Linked DNA regions of Homo sapiens: regions 1, 2 and 4 are each linked to region 3. The links are contacts of gene promoters, found by promoter capture Hi-C in human tissues and cell types (Jung and others, 2019). All regions are on one chromosome and are shown on one strand. The core of a region is centred on a gene start or on the middle of the fragment in contact, and the rest is flanking DNA. Distances in the headings are between cores, read along the strand shown.

What was found. The method cuts DNA at HindIII sites, captures the fragments that hold promoters and counts their contacts. A contact is called where the count stands out against the background at its distance.
Region 1: a fragment that was not itself captured here is called in contact with the fragment with the promoter of RNF135 in region 3 in 2 of the 25 tissues and cell types used here (IMR-90 fibroblasts and lymphoblastoid cells).
Region 2: a fragment that was not itself captured here is called in contact with the fragment with the promoter of RNF135 in region 3 in 1 of the 25 tissues and cell types used here (bladder).
Region 4: a fragment that was not itself captured here is called in contact with the fragment with the promoter of RNF135 in region 3 in 1 of the 25 tissues and cell types used here (mesenchymal stem cells).

The regions. Positions count from the first base shown.
Region 1 is chr17:31,170,722-31,177,858 of GRCh38, forward strand. All of the region lies in intron 5 of NF1 (neurofibromin 1), which reads left to right. Among named protein-coding and RNA genes, the nearest start is that of MIR4733HG, 79 kb to the left of the region's middle. The HindIII fragment of the contact is 5,735 bases long and covers 1-4,257 here.
Region 2 is chr17:31,097,400-31,104,297 of GRCh38, forward strand. The region is part of intron 1 of NF1 (neurofibromin 1); the gene reads left to right. Among named protein-coding and RNA genes, the nearest start is that of MIR4733HG, 5.4 kb to the left of the region's middle. RefSeq lists a silencer at 6,264-6,445. The HindIII fragment of the contact is 4,792 bases long and covers 2,289-6,898 here.
Region 3 is chr17:30,965,880-30,972,666 of GRCh38, forward strand. It overlaps RNF135 (ring finger protein 135), which reads left to right and starts at 5,160. Exons shown (of 5, transcript NM_032322.4): 1 at 5,160-5,566. The coding sequence starts at 5,195. RefSeq lists enhancers at 4,296-4,385, 4,446-4,505, 4,574-5,135, 4,786-5,035, 5,136-5,697 and 1 more and a silencer at 5,116-5,655. The HindIII fragment of the contact is 16,210 bases long and covers 1-6,787 here.
Region 4 is chr17:31,192,290-31,198,989 of GRCh38, forward strand. The region is part of intron 8 of NF1 (neurofibromin 1); the gene reads left to right. Among named protein-coding and RNA genes, the nearest start is that of MIR4733HG, 100 kb to the left of the region's middle. The HindIII fragment of the contact is 9,867 bases long and covers 1-6,215 here.

The sequences.
Region 1 (7,137 bases), core at 140-2,639, 200 kb after region 3:
ACTGAGTATGATCTGAAGGAATTGAGATAAATTCTGTGGTAAGCAGTGATGTATTCATGTAAATCAGATATCAATGAATATTCATAAACTGAGTATGAATATCTAAATTTCATTTTACAAAAAAATGTTTTTTAGTTTTTGGCATTATTAGACCCTGGCTAATTTAGATATGAAACCGTATACAGTTCACACATATTTTTATTTGTAACTTAAGGAATTGTCAAACAATAATATTTTTAATATCTGACCTAAAACAGATTGAATTATATTAGCTTCAGAAACATCAGTTCTGCAATGTAGTTTTCAAAATACGTGTTTTTGTTTTCTTAATATTTCCTTTAAACTCAATAACTATCTCACCAGAGATGTAAAAAGGCAATACCTATATAAAGGAATAATATAAAGCTGTGTTCTATTCATATTACCCTTGTTCATAATTTATGATTTTAGGTCATTACCATTGTGAAACCAAGCAACAATTAATTCAGTAACTTTAATAAAGGAAAATATAGGGGTGATTTTAGCTGTTATGCCAAGATACAAACATGTGGACAGCAATTATTTTAGATTATAATAAACCACCATTGAATTAATAGTTGAGATTTGCAAGATTTTGATATCTATTATTAAGCGTTGAGCAGTTGAGAAACTGAATGGTAAAATTTAGAGATCTCTATGAATTAAAGTTAAGAAGTATTAGTGGGATTTTATGATTTTTCATAACTATTCAGTGATGTTTTGGAAACAAGTCTAGTCCAGGTTGCCTGTGAATAGCTGTTTAAAACAATAGAAATGTTCAATCCGTAATAATTAACTGAAATGTCTCTTCTGTCCAAATAAGAGAAACTAATTGAATGTGTGGATAAATGACTTTCTTTTATACTGAAGTAACTTTCCCATCGAATGCGGCTCCCTCATGAACATAAATTTAGAGTATATGCTGATAAATATATAAAGTATAAAACCGATATTAAATAGGCCAGCAAAATATGGCTCTTGGTGACAGTGGTAAAAGGAATGCACCCTTTCAGTAATGAGTAGTAAAGGTAGTAATGTGTTTTAAATACAACTCAACAAGCCTTTGTTGAGAAACTATGTATAAGAAGCCATGCTAAGTGCTGGGATTACAAAAATTAATAAAATATGGAATCTGTCCCTAAGGAGCTCATGGCATGGTTTATGAGACAAGTGATGTCATTATCAAGTTATTTGCAGAAAAAAACTATGATAAACTCAAATAGGGTGAGTGTAAAGTGAGAGAGGAAGTATATATTTGTTTGAGGGGATGAGAGATGAGCAAGATGTGAAGGTACAAGAATAGGTCAGATCATTTTAATAAAAATATGGCCAGGCCTGGTGGCTCACACATGTAATCCCCACACTTTGGGGAAGCCGAGGCAGGAGGATTGCTTGAGCCAGGGCAACATAGAGAGACCCCCATATATACAAAAAAAAATTAGCTGGGTGTGCTGACACGCACCTGTAGTCCCAGCTACTTGGGAGGCTGAGGTGGGAGGATCACTTGAGCCCAGGAAGAGGTTGAGGTTGCAGTAAGCTGTGATTGTGCCACTGCATTCCAGCCTGGGTAACAGAGTGAGATCCTGTCTCTGTCTGTCTCTCTGTCTCTCTGTCTCTCTCTCTCTCTCTCTCTTTCTCTCTTTCTCTCGATATACCTATCTGTATATAGATATATCAATCGATATGTGTATATCCAGATCTGTCTATAGATATATCTGTATCTTGATAGATATATCGAGAGAGAGAGAGAAACATTTGTTATATTTTCAGTCTGCACCGGGCCTTGCGCTATGCAGTTTGCATGCCTTTTCTCATCAATTCTTACAATAACCCTGTGACGCAATACTAGTATTAATATTATCATCTCTTGTGTAGATGAGGAAACTGAGGCCTCAGTAAATTTTCAAAGTCACAGAGCTAGTAATTGTTCAGTAAAGATTGAGTTCACATCTGCTCGTCTCTAGAACCTAGATACTTGACTGCTGCACTGTTGTGCTTATGAGTTACGAAGCTTTATTTTAGTGGCCCTGGGAAGTGATAGAAAGGCTTTGAGGTAGAGAATACCTTAATCAGTATTTTATTTTAGATATACCCCTTTGCTTGAAATTTGCAGGATGGCTTGGTAGAGGGTTACCTGAACTTCTGGGACTTGGTTATGCAGTAATATAAGTGAAAAATAATGAGAGTTGTGGAGATCCAGATGATGGATTGGGGTAGGGTAAGGATGGGGACCAGTTTGATAGGTATTTAAAGAAGTGGAGGCTGGGCGCAGTGGCTCACACCTGTAATCCCAGCACTTTGTTAGGCTAAGGTGGGCGGATCACTGAGGTTAGGAGTTCGAGACCAGCCTGGCCAACATGGGGAAACTCCGTCTCCATTAAAAATACAAAAAATGGGCTGGGCGCGGTGGCTCACGCCTGTAATCCCAGCACTTTGGGAGGCTGAGGCAGGTGGATCACGAGGTCAGGAGACCATCCTGGCTAACACGGTGAAACACTGTCTCTACTAGAAATACAAAAAATTAGCCAGTCGTAGTGGTGGGCGCCTGTAGTCCCAGCTTCTTGGGAGGCTGAGGCAGGAGAATGGCATGAACCCGGGAGGCAGAGCTTGCAGTGAGCCGAGATTGTGCCACTGCACTCCAGCCTGGGCAACAGAGTGATACTCCGTCTCTAAATAAATAAATAAAATAAAATAAAAATACAAAAAATTAGCCGGGTGTGGTGGCACGTGCCCATAATCCCAGCTACTCGGGTGGCCGAGGCACAGCAGAATCGCTTGAGCCTGGGAGATGGAGGTTGTAGTGAGCCGAGATCACGCCATTGCACTCCAGCTTGGACAACAAGACCGAAACTCCATCTAAAAAAAAAAAAAAAGAAATGGAATACATAGCATTTGATAGTCAATTTAGATATATGAGGTTAGAGAGATATCACCAAATATTACAGAATAAGCTGGTTAGAGCAGAAAAGGGAAGGAAAGGTTGATGGCAGAAGAGAGGGTTTGACCAGGAAAATGATAAATTCAGTTTTAGATCTTCTGAGTTTGAGGTATCAGTAGGATGTCCAACAAGAAACTTGTAGAACTGAAAGATACTTTGGCTTTGAGAGTAGATTATGGTATATAACACATTTAAGATGTCATAAAGGTAAAGTTGTTGCTAAAGAGCACTGTGAAGAGTAATGTCATTATTTGGAAATCAGTGGAGGGTGAGAGCAAAGAGAATTCAAAGGGGTACTTTTAAAAACTGATTTGGAGAGTTACTTATTTGCAAGTCCAGAAAAAAGACTCATCTCTCTCTTAGACACTTACATAGATGTAATAAAAACCTTTATCCCTTCATTAAAAGTCAACAGGAGAAGTTCTTTGCCGAGGGACCATTGCCAGTAAAATCGCTTATAGACAGGTCATTTTTTCCAAACATAAATCTTTTTCTAGATGTGGACAATAAACTTAAAGAAGAAGAAATTAAAATACCCAATATATTTATATGGAGAAATGTTTACTGTTACTTGCGTTAAAATGCAGTCTACTATTTTGAACACTCCAATTAGCAAAATAAAGAAAATGAACATACTTTTATGATGACAAAGATAGGATGAAGGCACTTTCGTATGCTGCTTGGTGATAGCAGCATTTGGCCCAACCCTAGTGAAAGGCAGCTTGGTAATCTTTATCAAGGGCCCTAAAAATATTCATCTCTTTGACTGGACACTTCTAGAGATTCCTTATCTTAAATAAGCAGTGATGTGGGAAAAGATGTTGATATGAAAATATTTGTTAATGTTATTTATAATAGTGAAATAACAGAAATAACCTCAGTGTTAAAACTGGAAAACATTAAATAACCAGTCACTTAATACAGTGACTTAAATATTATGAGGGGCATCAAAGCATACTGAAAAGACCTTGGTTTTAAAGCCCAATTCAATCATTTATTAGATCTGTAACCTTAGACACACAGTTTGTTCATCTGTAATACTCTGAAAACATTAAGATTCAAAAAGAATTAAGTGTATCATACTAAAAATACATGATATGTTTTAATAGTTTGTGTAATAGTTACTATTGCATATAGAGCCATCAAAAATAGGCCAGGCACAGTGGCTCACACCTGTAATCCCAGCACTTTGGGAGGCCTACGTGGGCGGATCATGAGGTCAGGAGTTCGAGACCAGCCTGACGAACATGGTGAAACCCCATCTCTACTAAAAATACAAAAATTAGCTGGGTGTAGTGGCGCACGCCTGTAATCCCAGCTACTGGGGAGGCTGAAGCAGGAGAATCGCTTGAACCTGGGAGACGGAGGTTGCGTGAGCCAAAATTGTGCCATTGCACTCCAGCCTGAGCGACAGAGCAAGACTCCATCTCAAAAAAAAAAAAAAAAAAAAAAAAAGAGTTTTTACTGATACAGAAATAATTAGGGATACTATGGAAAAGAACAGGTTTGATACAGCTTATATGATCTCAGTTATGTTAAATATATTTGTTTTCTACATGCATAGGAAAAGTGGTAGAAGTAAAACCACCAGATGTTAACTGTGATTGTCTCTGAATGATAGAATCATTGATGGTTTTAAAAATTTCCCATAAACACCTGTGCTTTTGCTTTTTTTTTTTTTTTTTTTTTTTGGACAGAGTCTTGCTCTGTCGCTCAGGCTGGCATGCAGTGACATGATTATAGTACACTGTAGCCTTGAAATCCTGGGCTCAAGCTATCTTCCCACTCCTGCTTTCGAAAGTGCTGAGATTATAGGCGTGAGCCATCGGGCCTGGCCCTGTATATGTTTTCCAAATTTTTTAATTATACTTTAAGTTCTGGGGTACATGTGTAGAACATGCAGGTTTGTTACATAGGTGTCCATGTGCCATGGTGGTTTGCTGCACCCATCAACGCATCATCTACCTTAGGTATTTTTCCTAATGCTATCCCTTACCTCAGCCCCCACCCCCCGACAGGCACCGATGCGTGATGGTCCTCTCCCTGTGTACATGTGTTCTTATGGTTCATCTCCCACTTATGAGTGAGAACATGTGGTGTTTGGTTTTCTGTTCTTGTGTTTGCTGAAAATGATGGTTTCCAGCTTCATCCATGTCCCTGCAAAGGACGGGAACTTATCCTTTTCTATGTCAGCATAGTATTCTGTGGTGTATATGTGCCACATTTTCTTTATCCAGTCTATCATTGATGGGCATTTGGATTGGTTCCAAGTCTTTGCTGTTGTGAACAGTGCTGCAGTAAACATACGTGTGCATGTGTCTTTATAGCAGAATGATTTGTAATCCTTTGGGTATATACCCAGTAATGGGATGGCTGGGTCAAATGGTATTTCTAGTTCTAGATCCTTGAGGAATCGCCACACTGTCTTCCACAATGGTTGAACTAATTTACACTCCCACCAACAGTGTAAAAGTGTTCCTATTTCTCCACATTCTCTCCAGCATCTTTTCTTTCCTGACTTTTTAATGATCGCCATTCTTACTGGCGTGAGATGGTATCTCATTGTGGTTTTGATTTGCATTTCTGTAATGACCAGTGATAATGAGCTTTTCTTTATATGTTTGTTGTCTTCTTTTGAGAAGTGTCTGTTCATATCCTTCATCTACTTTTTAATGGGGTTGTTTGTGTTTTTCTTGTAAATTTAAGTTCTTTGTAGGTTCTGGTTATTAGCCCTTTGTCAGATGGGTAGATTGCAAAAATTTTCTCCCATTCTGTAGGTTGCCTGTTCACTCCGATGGTAGTTTCTTTTGCTATGCAGAAGCTCTTTAGTTTAATTAGATCCCATTTGTCAATTTTGGCATTTGTTGTCATTGCTTTTGGTGTTTCAGTCATGAAGTCTTTCCCCATGCCTATGTCCTGAATGGTATTGCCTAGGTTTCTTTCTAGGGTTTTTATGGTTTTAGGTCTTATGTTTAAGTCTTTAATCTATCTTGAGTTAATTATTGTATAAGGTGTAAGGAAAGGGTCCAGTTTCAGTTTTCTGCATATGGCTAGCCAGTTTTGCCAGTACCATTTATTAAATAGGGAATCCTTTCCCCATTGCTTGTTTTTGTCAGGTTTGTCAAAGATCAGATGGTTGTAGATGTGTGGTGTTATTTCTGAGGCCTCTGTTCTGTTCCATTGGTCTATGTATCTGTTTTGGTACCAGTACCATGCTGTTTTGGTTACTGTAGCCTTGTATAGTTTGAAGTCAGGTAGTGTGATTCCTCCAGCTTTGTTCTTTTTGCTTAGGATTGTCGTGGTTATGCGGGCTCTTTTCTGGTTTCATATGAAATTTAAAGTAGTTTTTTCTAATTCTGTGAAGAAAGTCAGTGGTAGTTTGATGGGGATAGCATTGAATCTATAAATTGCTTTGGGCAGTACGGCCATTTTCACGATATTGATTCTTCCTATCGATGAGCATGGAATGTTTTTCCGTTTGTTTGTGTCCTCTCTGGCTGGCATCTGGCAGGTGCCCCTCTGGGACAAAGCTTCCAGAGGTAGGAACACGCAGCAATCTTTGTTGTTCCGCAGCCTCTGCTGGTGATACTCTGGCAAACAGGGTCTGGAGTGGACCTCCAGCAAACTCCAGCAGACCTGCAGCAGAGGGTTCTGCCTGTTAGAAGGAAAACTAAGAAAGGAATAGTATCATCATCAACATCAAAGACCAAAGGTAGATAAATCCACAAAAATGGGAAGAAACCAGTGCAAAAAGGCTGAAAAAAAAACGAGCACGCCTCTTCTCCTCCAAAGGATCACAACTCCTTACCAGCAAAGGAACGAAACTGGACAAAGAATGAGTTTGACAAATTGACAGAAGTAGGCTTCAGAAGATGGGTAATAACAAACTCCTCCAAGCTAAAAGAGCATGTTCTAACCCAATGCAAGGAAGCTAAGAACCTGGAAAAAAGGTTAGACGAATTGCTGACTAGAATAACCATCTTAGAGAAGAACATAAATGACCTGATGGAGCTGAAAAATACAGCATGAGAACTTCGTGAAGCATACACAAGTATCAATAGCCAAATCAATCAAGCAGAAGAAAGGATATCAGAGATTGAAGATCAACTCAATGAAATAAAGCGAGAAGACAAGATTAGAGAAAAAAGAGTGAAAAGAAATGAACAAAGCCTCCAAGAAAT
Region 2 (6,898 bases), core at 3,435-5,934, 130 kb after region 3:
GTGAGCTGAGATCACACCACTGCACTCTAGCCTGGGCGACAGAGCGAGACTCTTGTCTCCAAAAAAAAAAAAAAAAAAAAAGGAGGAATGATTTTGATTATATACCCAGTAAAGCAAGAAAGTGTTTCTCCTTCTGTCCCTAGCTTTAAAAGACCTTAAGGCTTCGTTGTTTGTTATGCATATTGTGGAATCAAACTCACCACCATCTGTTAAAAATTAAGGACATTAGTTTTTAAAACAGCATTTTTCTGCATTCCTTATGTTGTAATTAAGAGAAAGATATATAGGAGAGATTATTCCTCACTTTTTTTTTTTGAGACAAGGTCTTGCTCTGTCGCCCACGCTGGAGTGCAGTAGCTTGATGTCGGTTCATTGCAACCCCTGCTTCCCACATTCACGTGATTCTCCTGCTTCAGTCTCCCAAGTAGCTGGGATTACAGGTGTGCACCATCGTGCCTGGCTAATTTTTGTATTTTTAGTAGAGACGGGGGTTTCACCATGTTGGTCAGGCTGGTCTTGAACTCCTGACCTCAGGTGATCTGCCCCCCACCCCCTGCTCGGCCTCCCGAAGTGCTGGGATTACAGGCATGAGCCACTGTGCCTGGCCTATTCCTCACATTTTTCTCTTAGAAAGTTAAAGTCTCTGACCTTGAGATACAAAAATGTAAGGGTTTTCAGTGTTTAACATAAGGTACTTATATATATTATATATAGTATATATATAAAATAAATTAATATATTAATTTATTATATAAGTGATAAATGTTTAATTCAAATTAGAGTTCACCTTACGGTTGAAAATGTCTTTTAGTCAGAAAACTGAGGCATGGGAAGGTTAAGTGACATAGATCTAATAAGAGCTTCAGTATGAAAAGTAGTGAATGCTTGACCATCAGGGAGATACTTTTCCTAAGTATCCCATAAAATTTGTTCTAATCCATTAAATATATTTAGAAGACTTTATTTTATTTTTTTTATTTTTGAGACGGAGTTTCATGATTCTTGCCTAGGCTGGAGTGCAATGATGCGACCTTGGCTTACTGCAACCTCTGCCTCCTGGGTTCAAGTGATTCTCCTGCCTCAGCCTCCCAAGTGGCTGGGATTACAGGCGCCTGCCACCACTCCTGGATAACATTTGTTATTTTTAGTAGAGTGCTGAGATTACAGGCGTGAGCCATCGCTTACATTTTTATTGAGGGGAGAAAAAGCCCTGCATGTACTGAGAGATAGTTGTATAAGAATCTTAAGAGTTGGCCGGGCGCGGCGGCTCACGCCTGTGATCCCAGCACTTTGGGAGGCCGAGGCGGGCCGATCATGAGGTCAGGAGATCGAGACCATCCTGGCTAACACAGTGAAACCCCATCTCTACTAAAAATACAAAAATTAGCTGGGTGTGGTGGTGGGTGCCTGTAGTCCCAGCTACTTGGGAGGCTGAGGCAGGAGAATGGCCTGAACCTGGGAGGTGGAGCTTGCGGTGAGCCGAGATTGCGCCACTGCACTCCAGCCTGGGTGACAGAGCGAGACTCCATCTCAGAAAAAAAAAAAAAAAAAAAGAATCTTAATAGTTTCAACTGTTTATAAAACTTTTGAATTTTGGATTATATTATCTGTACTTTGCTTTACTGGGCCCAGGGGGAGTTAAGCTTTCCTTCTTATTACAGCTAAGAGTTTGCCTGTTGGACCACTTAACGCCCCCAGGGAGCATGTGCATGTCTAAAGATGGCAACTCTGTTTATGATTGCTGTTTTGGTTGGATTTCTAATATTCGGTGTGATTAAAGCAGAAATGCATTTCTAGCCACTGCTGATTACAGACATATTGCACTCTGATGGGTATCGCTTAGCAACTTAGTGCAGTAGACTCAGTTAAAAGAAGTGGATGTGTGCCATATTGACATTTTGAGCTCACATTCTTGTGGGTAATATAAAATTCCTTAACCTGATAATATTGCAGCTAAACCTAGTATTTAGGGTCTAAGTTGAATGAGTATTACCAATTTTAGAAGTAATCACCTCCTTGGTTAGGGAAATGACAGTTGCACAGGTGGACAGCCAGAAAGCTGAATGTTATCAGTTAAATCTTACATCTCTCCTTAACCTGCCTTCGTGGTGCCAAATAGCAAGTTTCTAATTGAAACTGACAAATTGTAGGTGTGTAGCTTTTTTTTTTTTTTTTTTGAGACAGAGTTTCGCTCTTGTCTCCTAGGCTGGAGTGCAATGGGGAGATCTCAGCATACTGCAACCTCTGCCTCCTGGGTTCAAGCCATTCTCCTGCCTCAGCCTCCCAAGTAGCTGGGATTACAGGCGCCCACCACCACGCCTGCCTAATTTTTGTATTTTTAGTAGAGACGGGGGTTTCACCGTGTTGGCCAGGCTGGTCTCCAACTCCTGGCTTCAGGTGATCCACCTGCCTTGGCCTCCCAAAGTGCTGGGATTACAGGCGTGAGCCACCACGCCCGGCCATGTGTAGCTTTTAATTGTGGTTCATTAACCCAGTTTCTAAGCAAATTAGAACCTTCTGTGTATCTCCCCTAGTTCTGTATGCCCCACTGGTTCCTGTAGAGCTTTATTTCTGAAGGGAAGTATGGGAAAACTATGGATATTTGAACTAAAAAAAAAAAAAAAAGAATTAAAAAGAACTCCATCCCAAAATGATTTGTTGTAAATATGTTCATTTAAAGCAATTATATTTTCCATATCTGATCAAGCAAAAGTAGTACATAAAAGCCAAAAAACCCAATTTAAAGAATATGTTATGGAATAAACTCTGATTTTAGAGGTTGTAGTAGCATATTTGTTGTTCTCATACATTGAGTGTTCATCTGAATGTACGTTGAATATGCGGTGAGTGATTCACAGTATAAAATGATTGGCAAGTATCTTCGAAATTACAAACCACATACTGATTAGACAAATAGATTTGCAAAACTGAAGCTTTTTGGATTTAAAAAATATCTCCTAGCCTCATTCTTCAAGCCTGGTGTGTAATTTTTATAAGGCCTTATAGTAGTTGAAAATGAGTACTCTTTTATGGTGACGAATTCTTTATGGTGAGTGAGAAATAATGCTTATTCTTCCAATTTTAGTATATGTGGTGCTGAATCGAGCACAATAATGCTTATTCTTTGCTTCGGAATTTTTTAATTTATTATTATTGTTATTTTAAATTTTTATTTATTTATTTATTTTGAGATGGAGTCTCACTCTGTCGCCCAGGCTGGAGTGCAGTGGCGCGATCTCAGCTCACTGCAACGTCTGCCTCCTGGGTTCAAGCGATTCTCCTGCCTCAGCCTCCCAAGTAGCTGGGACTACAGGCGCATGCCACCACGCCCAGCTAATTTTGTATTTTTAGTAGAGACAGGGTTTCACCGTGCTAGCCAGGATGGGTCTGAATTTCTTGATGTCGTGATCCACCTGCCTTGACTTCCCAAAGTGCTGGGATTACAGGCATGAGCCACCGTGCCCGGCCCGGAATTCATCCTTTAGAAAGATTTCTTCCAGCTGTTCCTCAGTTCTCTGCACTCCCTTACACTTTCCACCTTATCTGTCTGGGAACTAATTTAGTCTTTATGTTGGCTGCTTTCTTTTCACTTTTCAGGCTAAGATTTCCTTTCTCTTGGAAATCAGACGTTTACTTGGTCCTGCAGCTCTCTCTCTGTGGACCAGTCTTTTTTGTTGTTGTTGTTGCCAGATACTCACCGCCTCTACTGTTTATCCACCCATTTCCTTTATAACTCTGAAAAGTAGCTCCTGCCTCTGCTTGATTGCTGTTTTCTTGAAAGTGATTACTTCTGGCAAAACATAGTGGTCATTGCTTAGTTGTAATGCCACTGTGATGTTCCACTCCCCCCGGAAACCAATCTCTTCCAGTTCCCAAGACACAATACTTTTCTACTGAATTGGAGTTCCTTAGCGGGGGTCTTAGTTTTGTTCTGCTATTCAGTGCCTTTGTCCCTATCCTAGCCATTAGCTTTCCTATAGATCCTTGATTTCCTCATCTGTTGAAAAAGAAATGGCTAGAAAATCTTTTAGATTCTTTCAAGTTTAAATATTCGATGATTTTAATATTCTAACAGCATGTCTCTGTGACCCAGCAGTCTATTGGGAGCTGACCCCACTTGATTTACCAAACTCTTTCCCATTATGCCTCTGCATGCACCTATGTTCCAGGCAGGTCACCTCAGTCTCTTCTGTGTGTATCATGCTTCTTCCCACTTCTTGGCCTTTATTTCTGCCAGTCTCTGCCTGAATGCTTTAATTCCTCCTTTGTGCTTTTCTAATTCCTGTCCATCCTTCAATGTTCAGCTCAGATTTCATTTTTTTTTTTTCCCCATGAGGTTGTTTCAGACTAAACTCTGCTATCTCACTTCTTGGTATCCTTGTTACCTGGAGTTTTACAGAACCACACAGTAAGTTTTCTTCCTTTAGGAGGATTGTTTGAACACAGCTTGGCTTTGTTTTCTTTTTTTCTTGTCTTTTTATCAAATGGAGTGCATACTTTCTGAAAAGCAAAGAACGCTATTTGAATTCTCTTCTAGTCACCCCAGTGCCCAGCACAGTCTTAAACACACAGAACATTGATGGAATGTTTTTCATATGATTCCTGGTTGAAGGGTAGACTGGCTAAATAAAAAAAGTGGTACTTTTGGCTTTGTTTTACTGAATTTTACTTCCATGTTTGCAATAGCCTAGGTCTGATAAGTGATATTTTAACTAGGAATGAGTAAGAAAATTAGCATAAAGAAGGAATTTATACATATTTATATTTCCTCCCATAGAGCAAACATGTTTTTTGAATCAGGTTTCAGATCTGATCAACTACTTTTGTAATTTTGGATTTGTCACTTACTGTTAGGATATTTTGCAATGGTGTGATAGAATATGAATGTGAAGCACTTTGAAAAGTCTAAAATTTTTCTAATATAAGATTTATATGTTTTCTTTATAGCTTATTATTATTATTATTTTTTGTGTGTGTGACAGAGTCTTGCTCTGTCACTCAGGCTAGAGTGCAGTGTAGCTTATTACTGATTATTGTGTTTTCATTAAATAAGGGAGAGTAGGCCAGGTGCGGTAGCTGATGCTTGTAATCCCAGCACTTTGGGAGGCCCATGTGGGAGGACTGCTTGAGGCCTTGAATTCAAGACCAGGCTGTGCAACATAGTGAGATGCTGTCTCTAAAAAAAATTAGTTGGGTGTGGTGGCATGTGCCTGTAGTCGCAGCTACTCAGGAGGCTGAGGCAGGAAGATCACTTGAACCCAGGAGTTCAAGCATACAGTGAGCCATGATTGTGCCACTGTACTCCAGCTTCGGTGACAGAGTGAGACCCTGTCTTCCAAAAAAAAAAAAAGAGAGCGTGACTAGTCTCTGGATATTCCTTTGTATGTACCTTGGCCAATATATACCTTACTTTAGTATCCATTGACAAGTTCTCTTTTTTCTTCTTCTTCATTTTTTTTTTTTTGAGATAGAGTCTCGCTCTATTGCCCAGGTTGGAGTGCAGTGGCACGATCTCAGCTCACTGCAAGCTCCACCTTCTGGGTTCAAGCGATTCTCCTGCCTCAGCCTCCCAAGTAGCTGGCATTACAGGCACGTACTACCACACCTGGCTAATTTTTGTATTTTTAAAAGAGACAAGGGTTCGCCATGTTAGCTGGTCTCAAACTACTGACCTCAAACAATCCACCTGCCTCAGCCTCCCAAAGTGCTGGGATTATAGGCATAAGCTGTGGTGCTGGTCTAATATTGTTACATTTTATTTTAAATGTTCCTGTTTTTTGCCCTACTCTTTTTATTTGACTTTTTAACCATTAGGAAATTAGATTCTTTTCTCAAATCTGCTTTATTATTATTATTATTTTGAGACAAGTTCTCGCTTTCTCGCCTAGGCTGGAGTGTAGTGGTACAATTTTGGCTCACTGCAACCTCTGCCTCCCGGGTTCAAGTGATTCTCCTGCCTCAGCCTCCCAAGTAGCTGGGATTACAGGCGTGTGCCACCACACCCAGCTAATTTTTTTGTATTTTTAGTAGAGGCAGGGTTTTACCATGTTGGCTAGGCTGGTCTTGAACTCCTGACCTGAGGTGATCCGCCCGCTTCAGCCTCCCAAAGTGCTGGGATCACAGGCTTGAACCACCGTGCCTGGCCCTATTTTTGTATTTTTACTATAGACGGGGTTTTGCCATGTTGGCCAGGCTGGCCTCAAACACCTGCCTCAGCCTCCCAAAGTGCTGGGATTACAGATGCAAGCCACTGCACCTGGCCTTAAGTCTGCTTTTAAAAAATGTTTTGGCTGGGTGCGGTGGCTCATGCCTATAATTCAAGCTTTTTGGGGGGCTGAGGTGGGAGGATCACTTGGGCCTCAGAGTTTGAGACCAGCCTGGGCAACAGAGTGAGACCCCATCTCTACAAAAAGTAAAAAAAACAAATAAAAAAAAAATCAGCCAGTGTGCATTGGTTGAAAGTAAAGAAAAGAAAAAAAACAGACAAATTAGCCAAGTGTGGTAGTATATGCTACTTGGGAGGCTGAGTCAGGATTGCTTGAGCCCAGGAAATTAAGGCTGCAGTGAGGCATGATTGCACCACTGCACTCTGGCCTGGGTGAGACCCTGTCTCAAAAAAAATTTTTTTTTTTAATATGGAGAAAGTATTTTTGTTTTTCGTTTTTTATTTGGGTACCGGCCACTGCACCCAACCAAACATTTTGTCCTTAAACAAAAGTTTAAGTCATATAATACAGTAGTAAGAATGCCTTATTTTTTACATCTTTGTTCTTTAAATTACTCAGATTGCTATGGGGCATTTTTGTTGTAGCTTTCAAATTTGGTATTCTGGGGTTCTATGTAGACTCTATATTGTTGCATTCTAACGACATACTTTTAAGGATAAGCAGCGTATTAA
Region 3 (6,787 bases), core at 3,910-6,409:
GTCACAAGTCACCAGTCCTGGTGGCGTAAGTCTGGAAAACATCTCCACCAATCTTAGATTCTACAATAGTGATGTTATCTATAGGAGCAATTGAAGAAGCCACAAATCTTGTGACTTCTGGCTACATAACTCCTGAAGGTAAGGGATTATAGAAATTGTGTCAACATCTCAGCAGAATTCAGGCCCCTCCCATAAACTTAATTTTGTGGCCTTTCAATGGTTTTACAAAGGTGGTTTCAGCCCCCTGAATAAGGAAAGGATTAGTTTTAGGGAGGGACTATTATCATCCTGGCTTCTAATTTAAACTATAAACTAAATTCCTTCCACGGTTAGCTTGGCCTACCCCAGGAATGAGCGAAGACAGCCAGCCTGTGAGGCTAGCAGCAAGATGGAGTCAGCCACGTTACAATAACACCCAGAAAATGAGAAAGTGAATACTTCTTTTTTTATTTGATCTTTTTTAATTTATTTTTATTTTATTTATTTATTTATTTAATTTTTAAGTTTTATTTTATTATTTTTTTATTTTATTTTATTTTTTTATTTATTTTTATGTATTTATTTATTTATTTTTAAAGTGAATACTTCTAACGACTTTTGTAACACAAGTGTTTCAAATTCTTTTTTTTGTTTTTGAGATGGAGTCTCGCTGTCGCCCAGGCTGGAGTGCAGTGGCGCGATCTTGGCTCACTGCAGGCTCTGCCTCCCAGGGTTCACACCATTCTCCTGCCTCAGCCTCCCGAGTAGCTGAGACTACAGGCGCCCGCCACCGTGCCTGGCTAATTTTTTTTTTTTTTTTGTATTTTTAGTAGAGACGCGGTTTCACCGTGTTTGCCAGGATGGTCTTGATCTCTTGACCTCGTGATCCACACGCCTCGGCCTCCCAAAGTGCTGGGATTACAGGTGTGAGCCACCGCGCCCGACCTCAAATTCTTGCTTTCAACAAAAATTAAAGAAAAATCAAATCAAGTTGTTAATTGAGAGATTATCACTATATGACTTTTTTGCATATATCTCAAAAAGTATTCAACAAAATGAGTGACAATTTTGTCATCTATTTATACATGTGAACAAGATTTCTCGGCACACATAAAAACATAAAAGAAATAGAATTTATTGCAAAAGTTTGTCTATCATTAAGTAATGTTCATTCATAGATAAATGCTTCTTTTTTTGACAGAGTCTTGCTCTGTTGCCCAGACTGGAGTGCAGTGGTGCCATTTCAGCTCACTACAACCTCCGTCTCCTAAGTTCAAGCAATTCTCCTGCCTCGGCCTCTGGAGTAGCTGGGACCTCAGGCCACCATGCCCAGCTAATTTTTGTATTTTTTGGTAGAGGCAGGGTTTCACCAGGTTGGCCAGGCTGGTTTCAAACTCCTGACCTCAAGTGTTCCGCTCACCTTGGCCTCTCAAAGTGCTGGGATTACAGATGTGAGCCACCGTGCCTGGGCATAAATGCATTTTTGAAAGAAATGAGCCCATCTGTCTTATTAATAGCTATCATTCCAATAAAATGTTTACTGTCTTTAAAAGTTATTTTATTTATATAAAAGTTATAAATTGCAGCATACTTTTCTTTTGTTTGACTGCTAATAGTAATTATATTGATAATTAAATCCAGGGGAAAAAATTTACCAAGAGCCTTTTTGTCACAGGAAGTTAAGAAGAATTAAAAATTTAATACACATACATACTTTTGTTGTAGAGAAGTATTACAAAGTGATAAAAGACTTTCATGCATGAAATATATTGCTTTGGAATGTAATTCTGTGGAGGAAATGGAATGGAAATACAAGTTCAGAAAGATAAAAGAATGACAAAATTTCTTTTTTTTTTTTTTTGAGACGGAGTCTTGCCCTGTTGCCGAGGCTGGAGTGCAATGGTGCCATCTTGGCTCATGGCAACCTTCACCTCCCGGGTTCAAATGATTCTCTTGCCTCAGCCTCCTGAGTAGCTGGGATTACAGGTGCCTGCAACTACGCCCAGCTAATTTTTTTTTGTATTTTTCGAACTCCTGACCTCATGATCCGCCTGCCTCGGCCTCCCAAAGTCCTGGGATTACAGGCATGAGCCACCGCACTCGGCCAAGAATGACAAAATGTCTGATGTAGGCTGAGCGCGGTGGCTCACCTCTGTAATCCTAGCACTTGGGAGGATGAGGTGGGCGGATCACCTGAGGTCAGGAGTTCGAGACAAGCCTGGCCAACATGGAGAAACCCTGTCAACATGGGGAAACCCCATCTCTACTAAAAATACAAAATTAGCCGGGCATGGTGGCGAGCGCCTGTAATCTCAGCTACTCCGGAGGCTGAGGCAGGAGAATGGTTTGAACCCGGGAGGTGGAGGTTGCAGTGAGACGAGATTGTGCCACTCCACTCCACTCCAGCCTGGGCAACAAAGTGAGACTCCATCTCAAAAAAAAAAAAAATCTGATATAAATGAAGAATTTGCTAATATATTTTTACTACCAGAGCTGACCACTCTCCCCCTTCCCCCTTTCTTTCTTTCTTTTTTTTTTTTCTTTTGAGACAGAGTCTTGCTCTGTCGCCCAGGCTGGAGTGCAGTGGTGCGAACTCAGCTCACTGCAAGCTCCGCCTCCTGGGTTCAGGTCATTCTCCTCCCTCAGCCTCCTGAGTAGCTGGGACTACAGGCTCCCGCCGTCACGCCCGGCTAATTTTTTTTGTATTTTTTAGTAGAGACGGGGTTTCACCGTGTTAGCCAGAATGGTCTCAATCTCCTGACCTCATGATCCGCCCGCCTCAGCCTCCCAAAGTGCTGGGATTACAGGCGTGAGCCACTGCGCCCGGCCCCCACTTCCCCCTTTCTTATAACCACTGCATGATTTTGCATAAAACTTTTAGGGCGTGTCCAAGAAAAAAGTTTGAAAACTACTGGTTAACTCACTCTTTCCAGAAACTTGGCTGTGAAATGGAGAAGAGGAGAGCTGGTTCCAGGGAGGCTCAGGTCAAAGGTGATTTTATTTTATTTTTTAATTTTTAATTTTTTTGAGACTAGGTCTAGCTCCTTCCCCAGGCTGGAGTGAAGTGGTGTGATCACAGCTAACCACAGTCTTGACCTCCTGAGATCTCATGGCTCATTACAGCCTCCACCTCCCTGGCTCAAGCAATCCTCCCACCTCAGTCTCCTGAGTAGCTGGGATCACAGGCCTGCGCTACCATGTCTAGGTAGTTTTTGTATTTTTTTTGTAGAGGCAAGGTTTCACCATGTTGCTCAGGCAGGTCTCGAACTCCTGAGTTCAGGCAATCCACCTGCCTCAGCCTCCCAAAGTGCTGAGATTACAGGCATAAGCCACCACGCCCCGCCAGTGATTTCATTTTTTAAGTTGGAAGATCTGAGCATGTTTAAGTGTTTAGTATCATGCCCGTTTTACAGAAAAAAAGAGGCTCTTAGAAACTACGATTTTACTCCGATGCGGAGATTCTAGAACAAGATCCAGGTAATACATCAGTCAGGATAGGCTAGGTTATGCTGTAGCAGCACACACCCACTAAATCTCAGTAAGCTGAATACATCCTAGTTTTCTTCTCCCTCTTACTACGTATCCTAGGGTGCGTTGGCAGGGAGTCTGCTCATCTTAGCCACTCAGTGACCCAGGTCACCGGATGATGGTTTCATCTCCATAATTGGGGCAGCTGGCAGAAAGGGATACAATGGCCGGCTCAGTCGCCTTTAAAGCTGGTGGGAAGTAACATATTACCTCTGTGTGTTTCAAGTGGGTCAGGGAAGTGCCAGTCCTACCATGTGCCCAGAAAGGGAAAGCACTGGAAACGTTGATGAGCAGCGCTGCCTACTCCATGACACTTCCAGTATTAGAAATAACCACAAACGCTTTTTTTTCTTTCTTTTCTTTCTTTTTTTTCTTTTTTTTTTTTTTTTTTTTTTTGAGACGGAGTCTCCCTATGTCGCCCAGGCTGGAGTGCAGTGGCGCAGTCTTGGCTCACTGAAACCTCCGCCTCCCGGGTTCAAGAGATTCTCCTGCCTCAGCCTCCCAAGTAGCTGGGATTACAGGCATGCGCCAGGGCGCCTGGCTTTTCTTTTCTTTTCTTTTTGTATTTTCAGTAGAGATGAGGGTTCACCATGTTGGCCAGGCTGGTCTTGAACTCCTGACTTCAAGTGATCCAAAGGTCGGCTACAAACTTGTATTATCTGATACCTACTTTGAGCCCAGGCCAGAAAGGATAAAGTAAAGCATGAGACGTTGTTAGTTCATTTCAACAGATTGGGGAGTTGTGGGTTTTAGTCTCTGACGCTTCATTGTTACCATGAGAGCCTGCAAGTTTTTCTTTTTTCTCTTTTTTTTTTTTTTAACCTCTTTGGGTCATCTGGGAGGACGTGGTGCTCTTTTAGCTCTAACATTTTCTGGTTGCAATGCGTTTAGGACTGGGATGCGAAGTGAGTGAGTGAGTGAGCCTTCTCAGGAAAACACTTTCTAGAATTTTGTCCGAGTGTCTGTTGGGAAACGCGCTTACATCCCGCAGAAGGCGGTAAGGACACAGCGCACAACTCTGCATTATACCTGCGAGTTAAAAAGCCAAGGGTTCGCTCACTCAACCTTGAATGCGCGTCAGAATCACCTGGGGGAGGTTTTACAAAATACCCGTGCTCCACCCAAGACAATGAAATCAGACTCCCTGCGAGCGGGGCCGAACATCAGCATTTTTGAGGACGCTCCCTGTGGCTGTGCATCGGTGATCTTTAATCCCCTGCTACTTGTTAGAGGAGCTGGATGACACTTCGTGGGCTCATTCTCATAAATAAGCTGCTGAATGGAGTCCTCTCCTCCCAAGAGTTGTCGGTGTTGCATCTTTTTTGTTGTTTATTTTTTTTTAAGCCAACGGACGAAGACATCCAACGGTGCTGCATCTTAATGGAGGGACATCCAGCTAAAGGGAATCTTGGAGACCTCCGCGGGTTTCTAGCAGCTCGCGGCATGTTGGTTTCCCAGGGCAAGAGGCCGCCACTGAAGGTCAGCTCTGTCTTTCCAGCTGGGCACTGGAGGCTCTAAGTCTGTTTTCAGCAGGATCGGAGGAAGGAGACGGGGTGGCGCCAAGGAAGGAGGAGAAAAGGCGGCCGAGAAAAGGAGGAGGGCAAGGGGAAGAGGAAGGGCGAGGGAGGAGCCTGAGGAGACTCGCCCGGCTCAACCCCGACGTCCGCGCCCCGGCCGCCTGTTGGCCATGGCGGGCCTGGGCCTGGGCTCCGCCGTTCCCGTGTGGCTGGCCGAGGACGACCTCGGCTGCATCATCTGCCAGGGGCTGCTGGACTGGCCCGCCACGCTGCCCTGCGGCCACAGCTTCTGCCGCCACTGCCTGGAGGCCCTGTGGGGCGCCCGCGACGCCCGCCGCTGGGCCTGCCCCACTTGCCGCCAGGGCGCCGCGCAGCAGCCGCACCTGCGGAAGAACACGCTACTGCAGGACCTGGCCGACAAGTACCGCCGCGCCGCACGCGAGATACAGGCGGGCTCCGACCCTGCCCACTGCCCCTGCCCGGGCTCCAGTTCCCTCTCCAGCGCGGCCGCGAGGCCCCGGCGCCGCCCGGAACTGCAGCGGGTAGGGAGGCCGGGCCCGCAGCTCCCCTGGCTCCCCCGGGCTGCCCGCCGCCTGACCCTTTCCCATGTGGCTCGAACCCCTTTCCTCAGCCGTTCTACTTTTACGTTCCTTTTCTCAGTCTAAAAGTCGAGTTCCGCTCTTCGGAGGCACTTTGGAAAGTTCATAAAAGTATGAAGAAGTAGAAAAAAACAAATTCCCCATCTTCCGAAAGCTTGTCAACTTAGCTGTTACACAGCTTGGCATATTTCAACTTCTTCCCAATCGATCTTCGGTCTCTTTCTCTGAAACTTGTAAAATTGTGGTAAGATCTATATAACATTAAAACTGGCCATTTTAACCTTTTTCTTTATTTCTTTGAGACGGAGTCTCGCTCTGTCGCCCAGGCTGGATGGAGTGCAATGGCGTGCGTGATCTCGGCTCACTGCAACCTCCGCCCCCCAGGGTCGAGTGATTCTCTTGCTTCAGGCTCGAGAGTAGCTGGGATTACAGGCGTGCGCCATCACGCCCGGCTAATTTTGGTATTTTTAGTAGAGACGGGGTTTCGACATGTTAGCCAGGCTAGTCTCAAACTCTTGACCACAGATGATCCGTCCGCCTCGGCCTCCCAAAGTGCTGGGATTACAGTCATGAGCCACAGCGCCTGGCCTCATTTTAACCTTTTATTTTTTTGAGACGGAGTTTTGCTTTGTGGCCCAGGCTGGAGTGCAGTGGCGCCATCTTGTCTCACTGCAAGCTCCGCCTCCCGGGTTCACGCCATTCTCCTGCCTCAGCCTCCCGAGTAACTGGGACTACAGGCGCCCGCCACCACGCCTGGCTAATTTTTTGTATGTTTTTTTCTTTTTTTAAAAAATAGGGACGGGGTTTCACCGTTGTTAGCCAGGATGGTCTCGATCTTCTGACCTCGTGATCTGCCCGCCTCGGCTTCCTAAAGTGCTGGGATTACAGGTGTGAGCCACCGCGCCCCGCCTATTTTAACCATTTTTAAGTGTACAATTCAGTGACAAATTAGTTACATTTCCTGTTGTGCAACTATCACTTCTGTTTCCAAAACTGTTTCATCATCATAAACAGAAACTTTGTACTCATTAAGCAGTAACTCCTCATTTCTCCTCCCTCTAGCCCCTGCTCACATCTAAGCTACTTTCTGTATCTGAGTTTGCCTGTTCTAGATATTTCATATAACTGGAATCGTTCAATGTTTGTCCCTTTGTGCCTGGTTTC
Region 4 (6,700 bases), core at 32-2,531, 220 kb after region 3:
GTGGTTGGGGTACAGCTTGGTTTGATATATTTTAGGAAGGCATGAAACATCAATCAGATACATTTAAGAAATACATTGGTTTGGTTTAGAAAGGCGCGACAACTCAAAGTGGGGGCTTCCAGGCCATAAGTAAATTTAGACGTTGTCTGGTTGACGGTTGAGTTTGTCTGAAGACTTGGGATTAATGGAAAGGAATGTCCAGGTTAAGATAAAGGATTGTGGAGACCAGATTTTGTTGTGCAGAGGAATCTCTCAGCAGACTTCAGAGAGAGAGAAGGTTGTAAAATGTTTCTTATTAGACCTAAAAGAGTGCCTGGCTCTTAGTCGATTAATCTCCTGGATCTGGAAAGGAAAGAAGGAAAACAAAGGGAAAAGGGGATTCTCTATAGAATGTGGATGTTTTTTCCCCACAGGAGACTTTGCACGGCAAATTTCAAGGTATGGCAAGGAAATATATTTTGGGGCTAAATATTTTTTCCTTGTCTCATAATGTTATGCCAGAGTCAGATTGAAAAGTAAGTCACGATATATAGCGTCAAATAAAACCCATCTGATGAGAATTTATGGTTTGTAGGGCATGACTTCCTAGACCCCTTAGGTAGGAGTTTGGGCAAGTTAAAAAATCAGAGCTAAGTCCTCACATGGCTTTTAAAAATTGTGAATAAGTAATACTTCCATAAATTCTGATTTAATTACGAATCCCACTAATTTCTTTTTTTTCTTTCCCAGGGACAGCCACTGCAAAGGGTTAAATGTATATTCTTCCAGTCTAGCTTTTATATTTTTATGAGGATGGGGAGATAGACAGATAGGTATATAGTTCAGTGTTTCTCAAAGTGTGGTCTTTAGACCAGCAGCATCAGCGTCACCTGGAAATTTGTGAGAAATGCCAGTTCTTAGTTTCTAACTAAATACTTAGTTTCTCACTAAAAACAGCCATTTTTATTAAGTCCTTCAGGTGATTGTGATGCACATTGAAGTTTGAGAACCATTGTTCATCTAGGTCATTGTCTTTAACTGCTGTATGGTGTTCCCTAAATTGAATATACCATTTTTTAAAAAAGAGACTAAGTCTTGCTATTATGTTGCCCAGGCTGGTCTCAAACTTCTGGGCTTATGCGATCTTCTTCCACCTCAGCCTTCAGATAGCTGCAACTATAAGCATGCACCACCGCACCCAGCTTGAATGTACCATATTTTAAATTCCATATTGTCAAGCATTTAAGTTACTTTTCTTTAAAAAATTAACGTTATTGCAAAGGAAACAATTGGCAGAGTGAAAAGACAACCTACAGGATGGGAGAAAATATTTGCAAAGTATGTATCCAGCAGAGGATTAATATCCAGAATATACAAGGAACTCTGATATCTCAACAGCAAAAAACAAAACAAAACAAAACAAAACAACAACAAAAAATTTAAAAATGGGCAAAGGACCTGAATAGACATTTCTTAAAAGAAGACAGACACATGACCAACAGATATATTTTTTAAAAAAGCTCAACATCACTAGTCATCAGGGAAATGCAAATCAAAACCACAGTGAGATATCATCTCACCCCGGTTAGAATGGCTACTATCAAAAAGACAAAAAATAGCAAATGCTGGCAAAGGTGTGGAGATAAGTGAACTCTTAAATGTGGCTAGTGGGAATGTAAACTAGTACAGCCACTATGGAGAACAGTGTGAAGGTTCCTCAAAAAACTGCAAATAGAACTACCATGTGATCCAACAATTCATTACTGGACGTTTATCCAAAGGAAGGGAAATCAGTATATTGAAGAGACATCTGTACTCCCATGTTTATTGCAGCACTATTCACAATAGCCAAGATATGGAATCATCCTAAGTATCTAACAACAGATGAATGCGTAAAGAAAATATGGTATATATACACAATGGAATAGTATTCAGCCATAAAAAAGAATGAAATTCTGTATTTTGAGGCACGTGGATTGAATTGGAGGACATTATATTAAGTGAAATAAGCCAGGGACAGAACATTAAACACTGAGTGTTCTCATTCATATGTGGAAGCTAAAAAAAAGTTGATCTCAGAAGTAAAAAGTAGAACAGAATACTACAGGCTGGGAAGGATAGGGTGCGGGGAGGGTAGGGAACGATTTGTTAAAGGATTCAAAATTACAACTAGATAGGAAGAGTAAGTTCTAGTGTTGTATACCACTGTAAGATGGCTGTAATTAACAATATGTTACAAAGTTTCAAAGAGCTAGGAGGAGGATGTTGAATGTTCCCAGCACAAAGAAATGATAAGAGATGATGGGTATGCTAATTACCTTGATTTGATCTCTGTATAGCTATGAAAATGTTACTATGTTCTTCATAAATATTAATACATCAAAAAATTTAAAATTAATAATTAACAAAAGATAAAGGGCCCTGAACTCTAGTTTTAGAGCTGAATTGTATCCAGTCAGATAGTTTCTATGTTATTTAAATGTTCACTTTAAATTTGGAGCTGAAATATATTTGGAAATCTTTACTTTTAGTATGTTCATTTGTGTGTGTGAGGTAAACTTGGTTGGCTATTGGCAAATGTATTGGGTAGCTGCTTAATAAAACATTTCCTTCCAGTGCTTCAGCTTTCTGATGCTTAGAAAATATGTATAATTAACATAATATGCATTATCACTTTTGAAAGTAACTAATTATTCGAACAGTTATTTGTGCCAAATTAGTAATGTGAATTTGGGAACTATCAGTCTTTTCTATGGCCCGGAATAATTTAAATAATAGAAATTATCTGATTAGATAGAAATCATTGTAAAATCATCAAGGTTAGGATTTCCTTTGACTTTTGCTTATCATTAGTTTTAAAGAAAAAAAATAAATTGACATAATGGAAATTTTCACTGTACATCAGGAAGGGAATTCAGTGGAAAAGTAAGCTTCCTATTCACTCTTGACCTTCAGTTTATACTTTTTTTCCTAAGTCAAGTACTGCTACTGGTTTCTTATGCTCTTTCTAGAACTAGCCTGTTTATTGTCTATTTAAAATAACTCATTAATCACCTTTTATTTGAGCTCCCTTATGGATCTGTGTAGTTTTTCTGTCTCTTTAAAATTTTGTATGCGGTAAAATGCACGTAACATCAAATTTACCATCTTAGCCATTTTTAAGCATACAGTTTAGTAGCACTATCTTTCACATCGTTGTGCAATCAATCTCCAAAACCTGTTCATCTTCCAAAACAAATTCTGTATCTATTAAACAGCTCTCCGTTCTTCCCTACCCTCAACTCCTGGCAACCGTCCTTTTACTTTCTGTCTCTCTGAATTTGACTACCTCATATAAGTGGACTCATACAGTATTTGTCTTTTTGACATGGGCTTATTTTACTTAGCATAATGTCCTCCAGTTCCATTCATGTTGCCTTGAAAGACAGGATTTCATTCTTTTTTTTTTATGGCTGAAATAGTATTCATCCATGTTGTAGCATGTCAGGATTTCCTTCCTCTTTAAGGCTGAGTGATATATTCCATTGTATATATATACCAACATTTTATTTATCTAAATTCATCTGCCAATGGATTTTTCAGTTGTTTCCACCTTTTGGCTATTATAAATAATGCTACTGTGAACATGGGTGTACAAATAACTTCAAGACCCTGCTTTTAATTCTTCTGAATATATATCCAGAAGTGTAATTTCTGGATCATATGGTTATTTTATTTTTGATTTTTTGAAGAATTTCTGTTGTTTTTAAAGTCACTTTTGATGGTTTGTTCTTTGCTAGAAAATATATATTTCAGTTTTATCAGTGCAGAGTTGTATATAATACTTACATATTTTGTACAATTATATAAAGGTTATATTATATTTCCATATTCTCATATAATTATCTTTAGTATCCATGTTTGTAACTGTTTACTCATTTCTCTTTCCTCATTCACGTTTACTATTTTATTGGTCTTTAAAACCTAGGCTTTGATTTTGTTTCCTAGCATTTAAATTTTTCTGTTTCATTAATTTTAGCTTTCATTTTATTTATACTGTTATTTCTTGAGGCAATGGCTTGGTTCATCTATTTTCAGTTTTTAAAAAAACTGTAAAGTATTTGTAAGGCTCTAAATTTTATTTTATTTTTTAGTTATAGGAATTTTTAATATATTCTGGTTATTCACCCCTTATGAGATACATTATTTGCAAGTATTTTCTCCCACTCTGTGGATTGTTGTTTCATCTTCTTGATAGTGTCGTTTGATACACAAAAGTTTTTATTTTGATGAAATCCAGTTTATCTGTTTTTTCTTTTGTTGCCTGTGCTTTTTTGGTATCATATACAAGAAATCTTTGCCAAATCCAATGTTGAAAATATTTTTTTTTCCTATATTTTCTTATAGGAGTTTTATAGCTTTACTGTTAAGTTTTGGTCTTTGATCTATTTTGAGTTAATTTTTGTATATGATGTAAGAAAAGGGTCCATCTTCATTCTTTTGCATGTGGATAATCAGTTTTCCTAGCATCATTTGTTGAAAAGACCATCCTTTCTCTATTGAATGGTCTTAGCATCTTTGTCAAAAATTGGTCATATGTGTGAGGGTTTCTTTCTAGGCTCTCTATTCCATTGGTCTGTATGACTGTGCTTATGCTAGTACCACATTGTTTTGATTACTGTAGCTTTGTAGTAAGTTTTCAAATAAGAAAGTGTGAGTTCTCCAACTTTATTCTTTTTCAAGATAGTTTTGACTATTATGCGGCTCTTTGAGATTCCATATGAATTTTAGGATGGGTTTTTCCTTTTTTTTTTTGAGATGGAGTCTCGCTCTGTTGCCCAGGCTGGAGTACAGTGGCGCGATCTCGGCTCACTACAAGCTCCGCCTCCCAGGGTCACGCCATTCTACTGCCTCAGCCTCCCAAGTATCTGGGACTACAGGGACCCGCCACCATGCCCAGCTAATTTTTTTTGTATTTTTAGTAGAAACGGGGTTTCACCATGTTAGCCAGGATGGTCTCCATCTCCTGACCTCGTGATCTGCCCGCCTCGACCTCCCAAAGTGCTGGGATTACAGGCGTGAGCCACCGCGCCTGGCTTTTTTTTTTTTTTTTTTTGCAAAAAATACCATTGGGATTTTGATAGGGATTGCATTGAATCTGTATATTGCTTTGGGTAATATTGTTACCTTAACAATCTAGGAACGTGAGATATCTTTCCATTTATTTATGTTTAATTTCTTTCAGCAATGTTTTGTAGTTTTTTATTAAGTTTTTCACCTCCCTGATTAATTCCTATGTATTTTATTTTGGATGCTATCGTAAGTGGAATTGTTTTCTTAATTTCCTTTTTGTATTTTTCATTGCTAATGTATAGAAATCCAGCTGATTTTTGTGTGCTGATTTTGTATTCTGTGACTTTGAATTTATTAGCTCTAACAGCTTGTTTTTGGTGTGTATGTGTCATCTTTAGGGATTTCTACATATATATCATCTGTGAATAGACATAGTTTTGCTTCTTTCTGTCCAAATTCAATGAATTTTCCATCTTTTTCTTGCCTACTTGCTCTGTCCGGAATTTCTAGTATTATGCCAAATAGAAGAAGAAAAAGTGGGCATCCTCATCCTGTTCCTGATCTTAGGGGAAAAACGTTCAATCTTTCACTATTGAGTATGTTGTTAGCTATTGGTTTTTAATACATGGCTTTTACGATGTTGAGGAAATTTCCTTCTATTCCTAGCTTGAGTGTTTTTTTATCATAACAGGTGTTGAACTTTGTCAAGTGGTTTCTCTGTATTGATTCAGATGATCATGTGGAGTTTCTTCTTCATTCTATTAATGTGGTATATTACATTGATTTTTTCATTGTTGAATCATCTTGTGCTCCTGGAGTAAGTTTCACTTGGTCATGGTGTGTCATCCTTTTAATAGGCTGCTGATTTTGTTGAGTTTTTCATCAGTATTCCTAGGGTGTATTAGTCTGTAGTTTTCCTGTAGTATTTTTGTCTGGCTTTGGTATCGGTAATGTTGGACCATAGAACTAATGAAGAGAAGTGTTCCCTTCTCTTTAATATTCTGGAAGTGTTTGAGAAGCATTCTTTAAATGTTGGGTGGAATCAACCAGTGAAAGCTATCTGGTCCTAGCCTTTTCTTTGGGAGCTTTGTGATTACTGATTAATCCCTTTACTAGTTATAGTTCTATTTAGATTTTCTATTTCCTCATGAGTTAGTTTCGGTAGACTGTGTGTTTGTAGAAATTTGTCCATTTTGTCCAGGTTATCCAAATTGTTGGCATACAGTTTTACATAGTATCGTCTCATAATTCTTTTTATTTTTGCAAAATCAGTAGTGTCACCACTTTTTTTGTTGTTGTTGAGGGGGTGGGGGGGATAGAGTCTTGCTCTTTCGCACAGGCTGGAGTGCAGTGACAAGATCTTGGCTCACTGCAACCTCTGCCTCCTGGGTTCAAGTGATTCTCCTGCTTCAGCTTCCCTAGTAGCTGGGACTACAGGCATGCACCACCATGCCTGTGTAATTTTTGTCTTCTTTACAGTAGAGATGGGGGTTTTACCATGTTGATCAGGCTGGTCTTAAACTCCTGACCTCAAGTGATTCGCCTGCTTTGGCTTCCCAAAGTGCTGGGATTACAGGCATGAGCCACTGCATCTGGCCGTGTCACCACTTTCATATCTGACTTTAGTAATTTGGTGTTCTTTCTCTCTGTCTCTCTTTTATTTATTTAT